Linked DNA regions of Homo sapiens: all the other regions are linked to region 1. The links are contacts of gene promoters, found by promoter capture Hi-C in blood cells and fetal thymus (Javierre and others, 2016). All regions are on one chromosome and are shown on one strand. The core of a region is centred on a gene start or on the middle of the fragment in contact, and the rest is flanking DNA. Distances in the headings are between cores, read along the strand shown.

What was found. The method cuts DNA at HindIII sites, captures the fragments that hold promoters and counts their contacts. A CHiCAGO score of 5 or more calls a contact.
Region 2: a fragment that was not itself captured here is called in contact with the fragment with the promoter of CNBD2 in region 1 in 1 of 17 cell types (endothelial precursors); the score reaches 5.9 in endothelial precursors.
Region 3: a fragment that was not itself captured here is called in contact with the fragment with the promoter of CNBD2 in region 1 in 1 of 17 cell types (endothelial precursors); the score reaches 5.4 in endothelial precursors.
Region 4: a contact is called between a fragment that was not itself captured here and the fragment with the promoter of CNBD2 in region 1, in 3 of 17 cell types (M1 macrophages, megakaryocytes and endothelial precursors). The highest score is 5.8, in M1 macrophages.

Annotation. Positions count from the first base shown.
Region 1 is chr20:35,966,899-35,969,997 of GRCh38, reverse strand. CNBD2 (cyclic nucleotide binding domain containing 2) reads right to left here and starts at 1,408. Exons shown (of 12, transcript NM_001365709.1): 1 at 1,185-1,408. The coding sequence starts at 1,235. It also overlaps the pseudogene LOC124904982. The HindIII fragment of the contact is 7,355 bases long and covers 878-3,099 here.
Region 2 is chr20:36,194,650-36,197,748 of GRCh38, reverse strand. EPB41L1 (erythrocyte membrane protein band 4.1 like 1) reads right to left here. Exons shown (of 22, transcript NM_012156.2): 13 at 2,385-2,420. LOC124904892 (a long non-coding RNA gene) reads left to right here and starts at 804. Exons shown (of 3, transcript XR_007067571.1): 1 at 804-1,067. The HindIII fragment of the contact is 1,133 bases long and covers 1,075-2,207 here.
Region 3 is chr20:36,160,537-36,163,635 of GRCh38, reverse strand. The region is part of intron 1 of EPB41L1 (erythrocyte membrane protein band 4.1 like 1); the gene reads right to left. Among named protein-coding and RNA genes, the nearest start is that of EPB41L1-AS1, 6.3 kb to the right of the region's middle. The HindIII fragment of the contact is 1,362 bases long and covers 879-2,240 here.
Region 4 is chr20:36,143,574-36,146,672 of GRCh38, reverse strand. It overlaps a transcript of EPB41L1 not described here. Among named protein-coding and RNA genes, the nearest start is that of EPB41L1, 9.6 kb to the left of the region's middle. The HindIII fragment of the contact is 6,985 bases long and covers 1-3,099 here.

The sequences.
Region 1 (3,099 bases), core at 159-2,658:
ACCATTTTTAACATTGCTAGAAATAATGGAAATGGAAATTAAAGTAATAACATGATACTATTTTGCACTTATCACTGGGAACTGGGAAACATGGTACAACCATGTTGAAGAGCAATTTGGCAACATTATATAAAGTTGAGGATGTGTGTACTTCACAATGGAAGAATTGTATGTACTTTATATGTCCTCTTCAGAGAAACATACATGTACAAGGGGATAGCCATGAGGGTAATCATGGCAACATTGTGTGTAACAGTGAATGGCTGAAAACAAATGTTCATTAGTAGGGATCGAAGGGATCAATACATTATGGTTCAGTCACAGGATTGAACACAGCACTAAGTCTGTGTGTGTCAATGTGGATAAAGCTGAAATGATTTTGAGTGGGAAAAAAGAACTATGATGCTATTTATGGTATCATTTTTAAACAGTGTGCCACATACTATATATTGTTTATGGATACATACACATGTGATAATATATAAAAATATAAACAGGAAGGGTGACACCAACTTCAGGAAAGTGGTTACTATTAAAGAGAAATAAAGGGGCATGGGATGGTAAAGAGCTTTCCCTACACCTGTAATGTTCTATTTCTTAAAAATTAGATATCTATGGAAATATGGGGAAAGGTACTTTATGAATAAAATTAATACTTACTGAGTACAATTTACTATTGTCAGGCATTATCCAAAGCACTATTCTGATATGTAAATCATTTAATCAGTAAATTTATGCAGTAGGTACTAGTATTATCATCTCACTTTACAGAGGAGAAAATAAAGGCACAGCAAACCAAGCAACTTGCCTGGGGTCACATGACTAATAGGTGATAGGGATTTAAACCTAGGTAGTCTGGCTCCAGAGTTCACAAGCTTAACCTATGACTCAATGTTGCTACCCTGACTCTATCCTCCCTCGTTCTCTCTGGATCTCATAATAGCAGGAAGAGTGGGTACAGAACAGGACTCAGTGGCTCTGAGTGTGGCTTATGGCTTGCCCAGTGTGGGGGGCTGGTAGGCTACAGGGCAGGGGTCCCTCCTTTGTGCCATGCTGTGACTCCAAAAGGTACAGGATGGCCACCATTCATCCAAGACCCCTCCTACACCTGCATCGACCTTCCTCAAAACACCTGTCTGTTCAGTCTTCTGCTCTTCCCTCCCAGGGCCCTTGCCCCTCCTCACCAGTTCCTTCTTCAGGAGCTGCCAGGCATAAGTTACCATATGTCTCCTCATGGTTCCTGTGCAGGCAAATGGCACAACTAGCCCCTTTGCCTTTCAAGGGGAGGACTACAAATTTTTCCCCAAAAATCCAGTAATACTAGAAACAAATAGATTTCCTCAGTAACAAGGCAAGAGCTCCACTCCACTCCTCCTACCATACCATCAGCTACTGGAAGCCCTGCTCTGAGAAAAATCATTCTCAGAATCTCCTAAGGTCACAATGAAAGATTCTGGAGGCAGGGGACACAGGGATTGGAATGTGGGAGTCTAACATTTATGGGATACTCACAGGCATTATCTCAGCTAATCCTCACAACCACCCAAACTTTTACTCAACTCCATACATAGGAGACTGGGGCTCAAAGTAGCTAAATGGCTGCCAGAGTCCTGGTGAGACAGGAGAATGGCACAACCCTGCTGACCAAAACAGGATCTAGGACCCCCTAGCTGTCCCCATCCCTCATTAACATAAGACACTCCTACCAGTGCCATGACAGTGTACAAATGTCTTGGCAATGACCAGGAAGTTGCTACCTCTTTCCTAGAAAACTCTAAAAACCCACTCCTTAATTTGCATTAACCTGCCCCTTAATTTGCATTAGCCTGCCCCTTAATTTGCATGTGATTGAAAGTGGGTAGGAATGCGTATACTACACTTGATCTCAGCCAAAAGGCTGAGAAGGGATTAGAGATGAGCATAAATACAGTTGCCAACATCTCATACACTGGGTATCGACTCCGGATTCATTGCCCATGAGTTAGCCCTGCCCCACAAGGAGAAGCACTATTCAATAAAAGATTGCTGTCTAACACCACTGGCTCACCCTTGAATTCCTTCCTTGGGCAAAGCCAAGAACTCTCCTAAGCTAAGTCTCAATTTGGGGGCTCACCTGTCCTGCAAAGATAGGGCTTTTTTGTTTTTTGAGACACTGTCTCACTTTGTTCCCAGGATGGAGTGCAGTGGCCCAATCTCAGCTCACTGCAACCTCTGCCTCCCAAATTCAAGTGATTCTCCTGCCTCAGCCGCCCAAGTAGCTAGGATTACAGGCGTGTGCCACCATGCCCGGCTGATTTTTGTATTTTTAGTAAAGACAGGCTTTCACCACGTTGCCCAGGCTGGTCTCAAGCTCCTGACCTCAAGTGATCCACCCACCTCAGCCTCCCAAAGTGCCGGGATTACAGGCATAAACCACCACTCCTGGCCAGGGCCTTTTTTTTTTTTTTTTTTTTAAGAAAGCAGTGTAGCTAAATGTCAGGTACACTTGCTCTCCATTTGTAGCATCCAATTAACAGAAGCAAGGTCTGGTCCAGCCTGGCCAATGTGGTGAAACCCCATCCCTACTAAAAATACAAAAAAATTAGCCGGGTGAGGTGGTGGGCACCTATAATCCCAGCTACTCGGGAGGCTGAGGTGGGAGGATCACTTGAACCCGGGAGGCAGAGGTTGCAGTCAGCCAAGATTGTGCCACTGCACTCCAGCCTGAACGACAGAGCAAGACTCTGTCTCAAAAAAAAAAAAAAAAAAAAAAAAAAAAGCGGGAGGGGGAATTGGCATAAATGGCATGCAGAGGAGGGAATGAGCAGGTGGGAGTCTCCATGACTCACTTTGGTGCCTTATCTACCGCCTGGTCGAGCTGCCACCATCTTGGGCAGAACTAGGTTGTAAAGTGGCCTTGTCTCGAGATACTCTCCAGGTGGGGCAGAGTTTCCTGGCAGGCATACTTTTGGTTGTAAATTGACTATTGTCTCTCAAGGCAATCTGGTGGGAGAGGTTTCTACTCTGGAGCTTTTAAGTAAGCACACAGATACACTTGCTCTAGGAGTGTCTGGTGAAGGGAAAGCAAAAGGTTATAACTGCATTTCTAATCAGCTAAGT
Region 2 (3,099 bases), core at 392-2,891, 230 kb before region 1:
ATTCCCACTCTGACCTGTGTCACTCTCATGGCAGCCCCAGAGACAAACCAGGGCAAGGAGAACCACCCCAACAGGTGCACATCCCAAGGCACAGAGCACTGAAGATGAAAAAGAGGAGATGTCTAGTCAAGCCACCTTCGCTTCTCCCTTGCCTGGCTCTACAGCCTCTGAACAGCCAACCTCTACCCAAAGCCCACAGGTCTGGGTGAGTTCCCTGTGGTGCTATAAGCCCGGTCTTAGTCACAGAGGTGACTTCCCTCTGTTACAACTAAGGCATAGCAGGCAGCAACTGCCAGAGAGCTATAATAACTCACTAATCCTATTCACTGGGCTGCTCTGACTCATTCAGGTGCCTCCTAGATCCCTCCTGGATCCCAGTGTCCACTTTCTGGCTGAGACTTGGGCCACTGTACTTAACAGGATGTCCAGTCTGGGCCCCTCCTAGCCCAACATGCACAACTGCTCAGGCCCTGGGGAGGCCCACAGTACAGATCCTCCTCAAGCCAGGGACATCCAGAAGAATGGCCAAGCTCCCACACTAGGGACCAGGGGCAGGAAAAAATTGCATCTAGTCTCCTCTGTGATGGGACACTACCTTCCCCAACCACCCTGGACCTTCCAGATACCTTTCAGGTACTGACTCACCAATAGCAGACAGGGTGAGATACAGCCAGATAGAGAAACTAGAATGCTGTGGAGTGTTCAGGAAGATTAGGAGAATTAGAGACCAGGAAGAAGAGCAGTAAGTCCCACAGCTGGGCACAAGAATTGAGCCAGGTATAGCCAGAGTTGTAGGATTCTACCTATATGGGTAGTGTTCCCAGCCAGTGCAGCATGACAGAGTCATCTCCTTAGGTCAAGGGAGGACGAGCTTTGTGCAGGAGCTGGCAGGGACCTGCCAAAAGCTGTTTATCTGGCTACTTCTGGGGCAAAGTGGTGGCTGGCAGCCCAAGGACGCTTATCTGCAAGGCTGCTTAAAAATTCATGTTAACTCAATTCAGGACAAGAAATGGACAATCTCAGCTTATTAAAGTCAGATCAGGTAATTCTGGAAGAACCACTGGAAGGTAAGCTTACCCTTGGACAAAGCTAGAATCTTCCCCTGGGCTCATCTCTGGTACCCAAGGATCCACTATGGCTGACTCCTAAGCTACCTCAGGAAGGAAACCAATCCCAGTGAGGCTCCTGCTTTCCCTCCAGACATCTGTCTGTTCCTCGGGCATCCCTTCCCAAGCTGAGCTGCCCTCTGGACCATGGCTGTCTGAGAAGTCAAACCTGATGGTGCTTGCACAGGGAGAGGGTTTGGGCTGCAATGGGTAGTGAGTCCCAACCTGAGATGTGGCTTGTCGTCTTCCATCACAAACCTGCCCCACTGCCTCCGTGGGTGTGTTATGTCCCTGAAGGCTGTAGGGAGCAGTGGGATCCTGGGGTCCTGGGATCCCTAAAGGTTAAGGGCATTGGAGAAACCTAGTCTGAATGCTTTGCTGTTCAGACAGGGGACTGGGGCCTGAGGGGAATTTCCCAAGACCTTCAAAGAGTTGGTGGCAGAAGTGGGGTTGAAACCCAGATCTCAGGACTCCAAGGCAAGGCTCTTCTTATGTCCCAGTCTCTGGCCCTTTACCTTGGCAGCCCAAGAATAAACCCACTTCTCTTGCAGTTAAAGTTCAGATGAAGAGTTGGTGACTGTGTGAGAGGGAAGAAGTGGTTAACATGGAAGGAATAATTTGGGGGAAGCAACAAATGGGAAGAAGACGAGGAAAGGAGGAGAAAAGGAGGAGGTTTTTGCCATAGCGGAGCAGTAGTCGACCCTGCCTGGGGGAGGTGTAGGACTGGAGTTGGGGCAGATGCAGGTGTGCTCTGAGGCACCTCCCTCCCCCACCCCCAATCCCCACTCCCACATCTGACTGCCAATAGATACAAAAAGAAGCTAGGGGTGAGGACACAGGGGACACAGACGAGATGGAGGCGAGACCAAACAGTGCTGTCGGGCAGGAGATGAATCTAGGGAAGGGGTGGGTCAGGGGAGATGTGCTAAATGAAAGCACAGAATGGCCTGGAAGAGCTGGTGGTGCAGGTGGGATGGTCAGCAGGTGAGCTGCAAGTATGGAGGACCGGGTGAGCTGGGGAGAGGGTGGGAGGGCTGAGGGAGGAGGGAGAGATGGCCGATTGGCCAGGAGAGTCTAAGAAGGGAGCTGGAGAGAGAAGCTTAGCGGGTGGCGGAGTGGGGAGCAAGGACGGCTGCAGAGGGGGATGGCTGGGGAGCAGAGATGAAGTTGAAGCTGAGATGGTGCCAGGGAAGTGAGCCTGGGATGGACTGTGGGATGGTGACAAATGAGCTAGGGATGGGAACGGCTGGGTAGGGAGGGACAGGTCCCATGCAGTACCTCCTGCTTGTGTCTCGGCGTGGTTTCCTGCTCCGGCTAGTGGGATGTGGTAGGAGGGAAAGAAAGCAGCAGGGTCAGTAGAGCAGATGGATTAGAGATACCACGATGGGCTTGGTCCAGCAAGGAGCCCAGAGCACGCACACTCGACCAAGTGGAGGCCAGGGCAGCTGGGTGGGCCACCAGCAGGGCAGTGAGGTAGTCAGAAGAAGGTACAGGTGTGAAGCAGGGTGCTGTCCCAGGAAGGCAGAGAAGGGAACTAGAGGCCAAGTGGGCAGAGCCACACTGGGCAGATGGGATGTGAGAATGGAGTTCCCTGCTCTCGCTGTCAGTGGGAGCATGTTCAAGGCCCTGTGCTCACAAGGTAGACGGAAAGAAACCTGCTGAACAACTATACCAAGAGGAAGCTCTCCCTGGCCTGTGTGTGCACACACCTGTGTGTGTGCATGTTGTTTGCACATCTGTGTGCATGGATCTAAGGGTGACGGGTGCATACATCTGTTATTAAGTGAGTGTGAGGCTGAGGTCATGCAATCCTGCATGAGCGTGTACACACAGATACTGGGACTGTGTGTGTGCACCTGAGTGGGGCATGGGGAAATAGGAAGGGGACACACTTGAACCTCACACTCCTAGAGCTGTTGGTGACACCTGGTCATGCTCTGAGGAGGAAGAGAGTGGTGCAGATCCAGATCCCAGTCAGAGGGGCAAATTAAGA
Region 3 (3,099 bases), core at 310-2,809, 190 kb before region 1:
CCATGTGGGTTCCCCTCACCCTGCTCACATCTTTATTAACATCTCCTCAGGTGAAGCATCTGAGTGGAATTCTGTTTCCTGTCAGAATCTGACTGATCCACCACCTGATGCTCACTTAGGATAAGGGGAGCCTGAGAAGAGGCAGAATAAGCTAAGAAGTCAAGGAAGGCAAGGGAACCGTCAGGAAGCCCCTTAACCTCTTTGTGCCTCAGTTTCTTCATCTGTAAAGTCATGATGATAAACTTACATACCTCACAGGCTTACTGTGAAAATGGAATCAGATCATGCCTGTAAAACACTAAACACATACCAGAATATTAGAAATATTTGCTCCAGAAATATTACTCTCCAATTAAGTCCAAAGACTAAAATGTTAACAATAGCCTTCCCTTGGAGAAGGAAATAGGGGCCTTTTTCTCCGTATTTTTCAATTTTCTACTATGAGCATGTATTACTTTCGGAGTCAGAAAAGAAAAAAGAAGAATTACAAGAAAAAAAAAAAAAAACAGAAAGAGTGCCTATTAGGGCTTATTCTTTCTCTCACTTGCTGGAGATGATGTGACTTCCTTCCCAAGGGGACTTCCCCAGTATGGAACACTCACTTCCCTGAGTGATAATGTCTACATGGACGTGAATGAAAGGATGGAGGGTACAGGCTGAGAGAGCTGCCTCTGAGACCTCAAGCCACTTTCACAGCCAGGCAAGAAGGATCAAAAAGGGAGCTGAGTCTGCAGTCATCCTGTCTGGTGCTTGGATTTGTACATGGCAGTGGGGAGACGGCAATTCGTCAGAGGTTTGCAGTACCCACGGACACCACTTTAGACCAAACAATGTGAAAAGGCCACCACCCATCAGCCTTGGCTTCTTGCCCAAAAGCTTCACGGGCCACTAGGGAGCCTCAGGCTGATGTGCAGTGGTGGGCTGGGGACCACGTGACAGCACAGAACTGCAGAGTAACAGCATTAAAACGGAGACATGCGTCCCACCTGGCCCATCCTGATGACGATGCAGAAGGCAGAGAGAGACCTCCCGTTAGCAGGGTATCCTCCGAGAGCTGGGCAACATGCTGGCTGTCTTTTGGGCTTTATCTTATTTGAGCTGCACAAGGGCCACACGGAGTAGGTGAGCTTATTTCCCAGGCGGCTTAGTGGCCAAGGCCACATGGCTAGTCAGTTTCAAGGAGAGCCAGGACTAGGACTCAAGTCTGCTGGCTCACAGTCCAGTGCTCTCCCCACTCAATGCTGCTACATCCCACGACCTCCAACTTGCTGTAAGCCATATAACCAAAGCTACTGTTGCTCTGGATGTAGAAATAATAACGGCAGTATCAATCCCTCCCACATGCAGGGCACTTTACAACTTAAAGGATCTTTTTATAATCATTTTGCTTGGACCTCACCAATTAGCCACTGTTGAGAGTGGGCAGGAAACAGCAGTTACAGACATGGGCTTATGAGCCAGAGCTGGAATCCTGATGCCACAGGCTTGGTGACCTTGGGCAGGTTACTTAACCTCTATTGAGAAGACTATCCCCTGCACCTCCAAGGTGTATAGTGAGAATTAAATGAGATAGGCAGGGTGTGGTGGCTCACGCCTGTAATCTCAGCACTTTGGAAGGCCAAGGAGGGAGGATTGCTTGAGCCCAGGAGTTTGAGAGCAGTCTGGGCAACAGAGCGAGACACTGTCTTTACCCTGTGCCCCCCCCAAATTAGCCGGGCATGGTGGGGTGCACCTGTAGTCCCAGCTACTCAGGAGGCTGAGGCAGGAGGATCACTAGAGCCTGGGAGTTTGAGGTCACAGTGAGCTGTGACTATGCCACTGCACTCCAGCCTGGGTGACAGAGTGACAGGCTGTCTTTAAAAAAACAAGAATAACGACTGGGCCTGTAATCCCAGCACTTTGGGAGGCTGAGGCAGGCAGATCACCTGAGGTCAGGAGTTCGAGACCAGCCTGGCCAACACAGTGATAACCTGTCTCTACTAAAAATACAAGAACTAGCCAGGCAGGTGGCACGTGCCTGTAATCCCAGCTACTTGGGAGGCCAAGGCAGGAGAATTGCTTGAACCGGGGAGGCGGAGGTTGCAGTGAGCTGAGATCCTGCCACTGCACTCCAGCCTGGGCAACACAGCAAGACTCCATCTCAAAAACAAAACAAAAAAACCCAAAAAACAAACAAACAAAAAAATAAGAAGAATAAAATAAAAAGAAAAAATAGAAAAACAGATAATGCACATGAAGCTTGCTCTAGCACAGTATTTGACATATAGAAGACACTCAGTGGCAGCAATGGCTCTGATCACCACCAGACAGATGGACAAACTGAGGTACAGAGAAGGTAGAAAGCTTGTCCAAGGACAGTCTGGGTGTGGGCAGCTGCACAGCCCAAGCAGCAGCTTAGAGCATCCTAAGAGAATTTGAAAATTTCCTAGGAGAGCTCCATACTGGGTGGGTGAAAGAAAGGGTCTTTCCCTGGGACATCACCACCTTTTGAGGGTGACAGAGAGATGGCCTCCTCCAAGACCAGTTCCCCCAGGCTCCAGTGAGGAGAGGAGGGAACAGGAGAAGGGAGAAGCAGCAGACCTTTGAGGGCAACTCTCACGGTCTCATGGTTTCTGACTCCTTCTCTCACTTGATTTTCACTAATTGTCTAAATACTGTTAGAGTTCAGTTAGCGTTACTTAGAATACCGTAAAATTGGAAACAACTTCAAATGTCAATCAACAGGGGGGCTGGCCAAATTAGTAGGGTTTATCCATTAAAAATTTAATTATGAAAGTATAACATACCTATTGCAAAAATTTTTGAGATAGATTTTATATCTACTGACATAAAAAGATGTCAATGTGTAGTTACATGAAAAATGCAAGTTGTAAAACAATAATGCAATGTATGATCCCATTCTGGTTTGTATGTTTATGTTGGTATAGAAAATATCCTGGAAGGATACACAACATGCTGTTATTAGCTACGACTGGAGAGTAGGATTTGTTTGGGGATCTAAGGGGAGAATACACTTTTTTTCTTTCTTTCTTTCTTTTTTTTTTTTGTGACGGAGTCTCGCTCTGTCACCCAGGCTGGAGTGCAATGGCGCAATCTCGG
Region 4 (3,099 bases), core at 316-2,815, 180 kb before region 1:
TGGCACTGCTCTGCTGTCTTTTCAGTCCTCTCTTCATCCATCCATCTGCAGGGACCAGACGGCTAGACCAGCCGCTGCATCACTGGTTAATCCGCAACTTCACAAGGCAGCCAGGCAGTGACGCCTGAATGTTCCCATCTCCCCACACTAGGCCAGGCTGGGCAGAGAAGTCGTCTGTGTATGTAAACACAGCCTTCTGCTTAGGCAGCTCCTGCCGGACTCCCCTCGCCAACTGGGCCCTCTGTGGCTTTTATCTCCCTGCCTAAAATAACCATTGGCTTCAGTGGTTCTCTGGGCATGAATCAGACTCTCGTAGAAGCCTGTGAGCAGCTTGAGGACAGGGAAGTTATGGTACCGATCTCTGTATCCCCAGTGTGCCAGTACAAAGGTTTGTGGGATTTGTCGAACTCCTCTGTGTACCTGGAGGGACCTACAGTAGGAAGCAAGAGCTCTCTACAGAAAACAGTCACATCCTCCAAAAGCTCACAGTTTAGTAAGAGAAAGTACCCACACCAGCCAACTGCAATGTAAAACAGAAAGCACTAAAGGTTGTAAGAAGAGGACAGAGTGTTGGGGAGTTCAGAGGAGAAAAAGATTAGAGAGCAGCAGGTGTCAAAGGAGGTTTCGAGGAAGAGGTCATATGTGGGTTGGGCATTAAAGGCAGGGCAGAAGGACAATGTAGACTGAGGAGAGAGCATAACACAAGCCATAGTGCTGGGAATTACAAGGTAGAATCAGGAAACGCTGCATATGACCTGGAGCCTGGGATACTGAGGGTTGAGGCTATCCCTGAGGAGATAGAAAGGAGCTGGTGCCAAGCAGAGCCTTGAATGACAAACCAAGTGCACTGCACTGTCTAGCAACTGGCCAAATGTGATTATTTAAATTTAAATTTAATGGAACAAAATGTAAAACTCATAGCCACATGTGGTTAGTGGTTACCATACTGGACGGTGCAGATGTAGAACATTTCATCACTACAGACATTTCTAGTGGACAGCAATGGTGGATAGTGTCAGAGGATCCAGAGAGCTTTGAGCAGAGGCATAATTAGAGCTGGGCTTTAGGAAAATTAATTTGCTCCTGGTGAAGACTCAGTGACCGGAGTGAAGGAGAAGCCTGGAACCACAGTGGGACATTGCAATAATCCAGGTGAGATCAGTCACCACTTCTTTTCCCTCTGTTCATCTCTTCCTATCAGGAAACAGGGATGATTCTAAAGTGTGGTCCCTGGAACACCAGCAATATCTGGGAACTCTTTTTTTTTTTTTTTTTTTGAGATGGAGTCTCCCTCTGTCGCCCAGGCTGGAGTGCAGTGGTGTGATCGCAATCTCAGCTCACTGCAACCTTCACCTCCCAGGTTCAAGCAATTCTCCGCCTCAGCCTCCCAAGTAGCTGGGATTACAGGCACCCACCACCACAACCGGCTAATTTTTTTGTATTTTTAGTAGAGACGGGGGTTTCATCATCTTGTCCAGGCTGGTCTTGAACTCCTGACCTCGTGATCCACCGCACCCAGCCTTATCTGGGAACTCTTAAGTACACAAATCCTCAGGCCCCACACAGACCTACTGAGTCAGAAACTAGGAGGTTTGGAACAGCAACAGTGCTTTCATCAGCCCTCCTGTGATTCTAACGCACACTGGAGTTTCAGGTCTGCCAGCATAGAGGCTAGGAGCCTACACTTTGGCTCCAGAGTGATGTATACTCTGGAGTCAGAGGACCTGACTTCATATCCTGGCTCAGTTGTTTCCTAGATGTGCTTAATCTATTTGTGCCTCAGTTTCCTTATAATAACCATATGGAGTTATTATAAGGATTAATGGAGCTAATACATGTAAATATCTTAGAAGAGTGTCTAACTTATAGTAAGTATTCAATAAATGTTACTTATCAGTCCTATTATTCACTCCTATGGCAGTTTAATTCCTCCCATATACAATGAGACAGCATCTGTCTCTTGCCACTAGCTATGACCTCCTGCCTTTCCATCATATAATATTCCCAGGCCCACTCAGCCATTCTATTTCCTGTCCTCCAGGACCCGAGGGTCAGTTCCTTTCCCACAAGGCAGAGGCACTTCCTGTATCAGAGAGTGTCCCACCAGGATAAGAATGTCAACAGACAGATTTAACTGTCCTGGGCAAAGATGCCCTCTAAAGGAATGAGTCAGGAGATGCCCCATGGGTTTTCCCCTGGGAGTGGGAAGGTCTGGAGGTGAGGGCTCAGCTGCCCACTGTGATTGAAAGCCTCAAGCCTGTTCAGTTGGATCCATGCCAGCCAAGAGGGTATGGAAAATGGTACTGTGATCCTGCCTACTGTAGGTAGCTAGACCCTGGCTCAAGGAACCAGGCAGGGGAGGGTGGCGTCCTGTGTGGCAGAGGGCGCTGGGCTGGGCATCAAGAAACCTTGATTTGACCTTTGCTGTGAGATCTTGGGCAGTCATTTTCCTCTCTGAATTCAATTTCCTTACCTGTAATATGAGGGGGTTGGACTAGCGCAGTTCTAAACCTTTTAGGGGGCTGGGCGCAGTGGCTGACGCCTGTAATTCTTACACTCTGGGAGGCCGAGGCGGGCAGATCACCTGAGGTCAGGAGTTTGAGACTAGCCTGGCCAACATGGTGAAACCCCATCTCTACTAAAAATACAAAAATTAGCCAGGGATGGTGGCGTGCGCCTGTAGTCCCAGCTACTTGGGAGGCTGAGGCAGGAGAATCACTTGAACCCGGGAGGCAGAGGTTGCAGTGAGCCAAAATCGCGCCACTGCACTCCAGCCTGGGCAACAGAGCGAGACACTGTCTCAAAAAAAAGAAAAAAGAAAAAAAAAGAAAAAGAAAAAGAAAACCTTTTATCGGTCCTGATTTCCTTTGAAAATGCAATGAAAACTGCAGAGCTTCTCCTAGAAAAATGTACATGGGTATGCACCTGCACACACATACACACACACAAAGTCACACTCACACACACACATACCTACCTTTATCATCTTTCAGGTATCAAGAGAGCTCATGAAGCCCATGCATAGATCACCCCCTGAGTGATAGATAGATAATCCCCTTGGTTAAGACTTGGGCTAGATGATCTCTAATCAGCCACGAT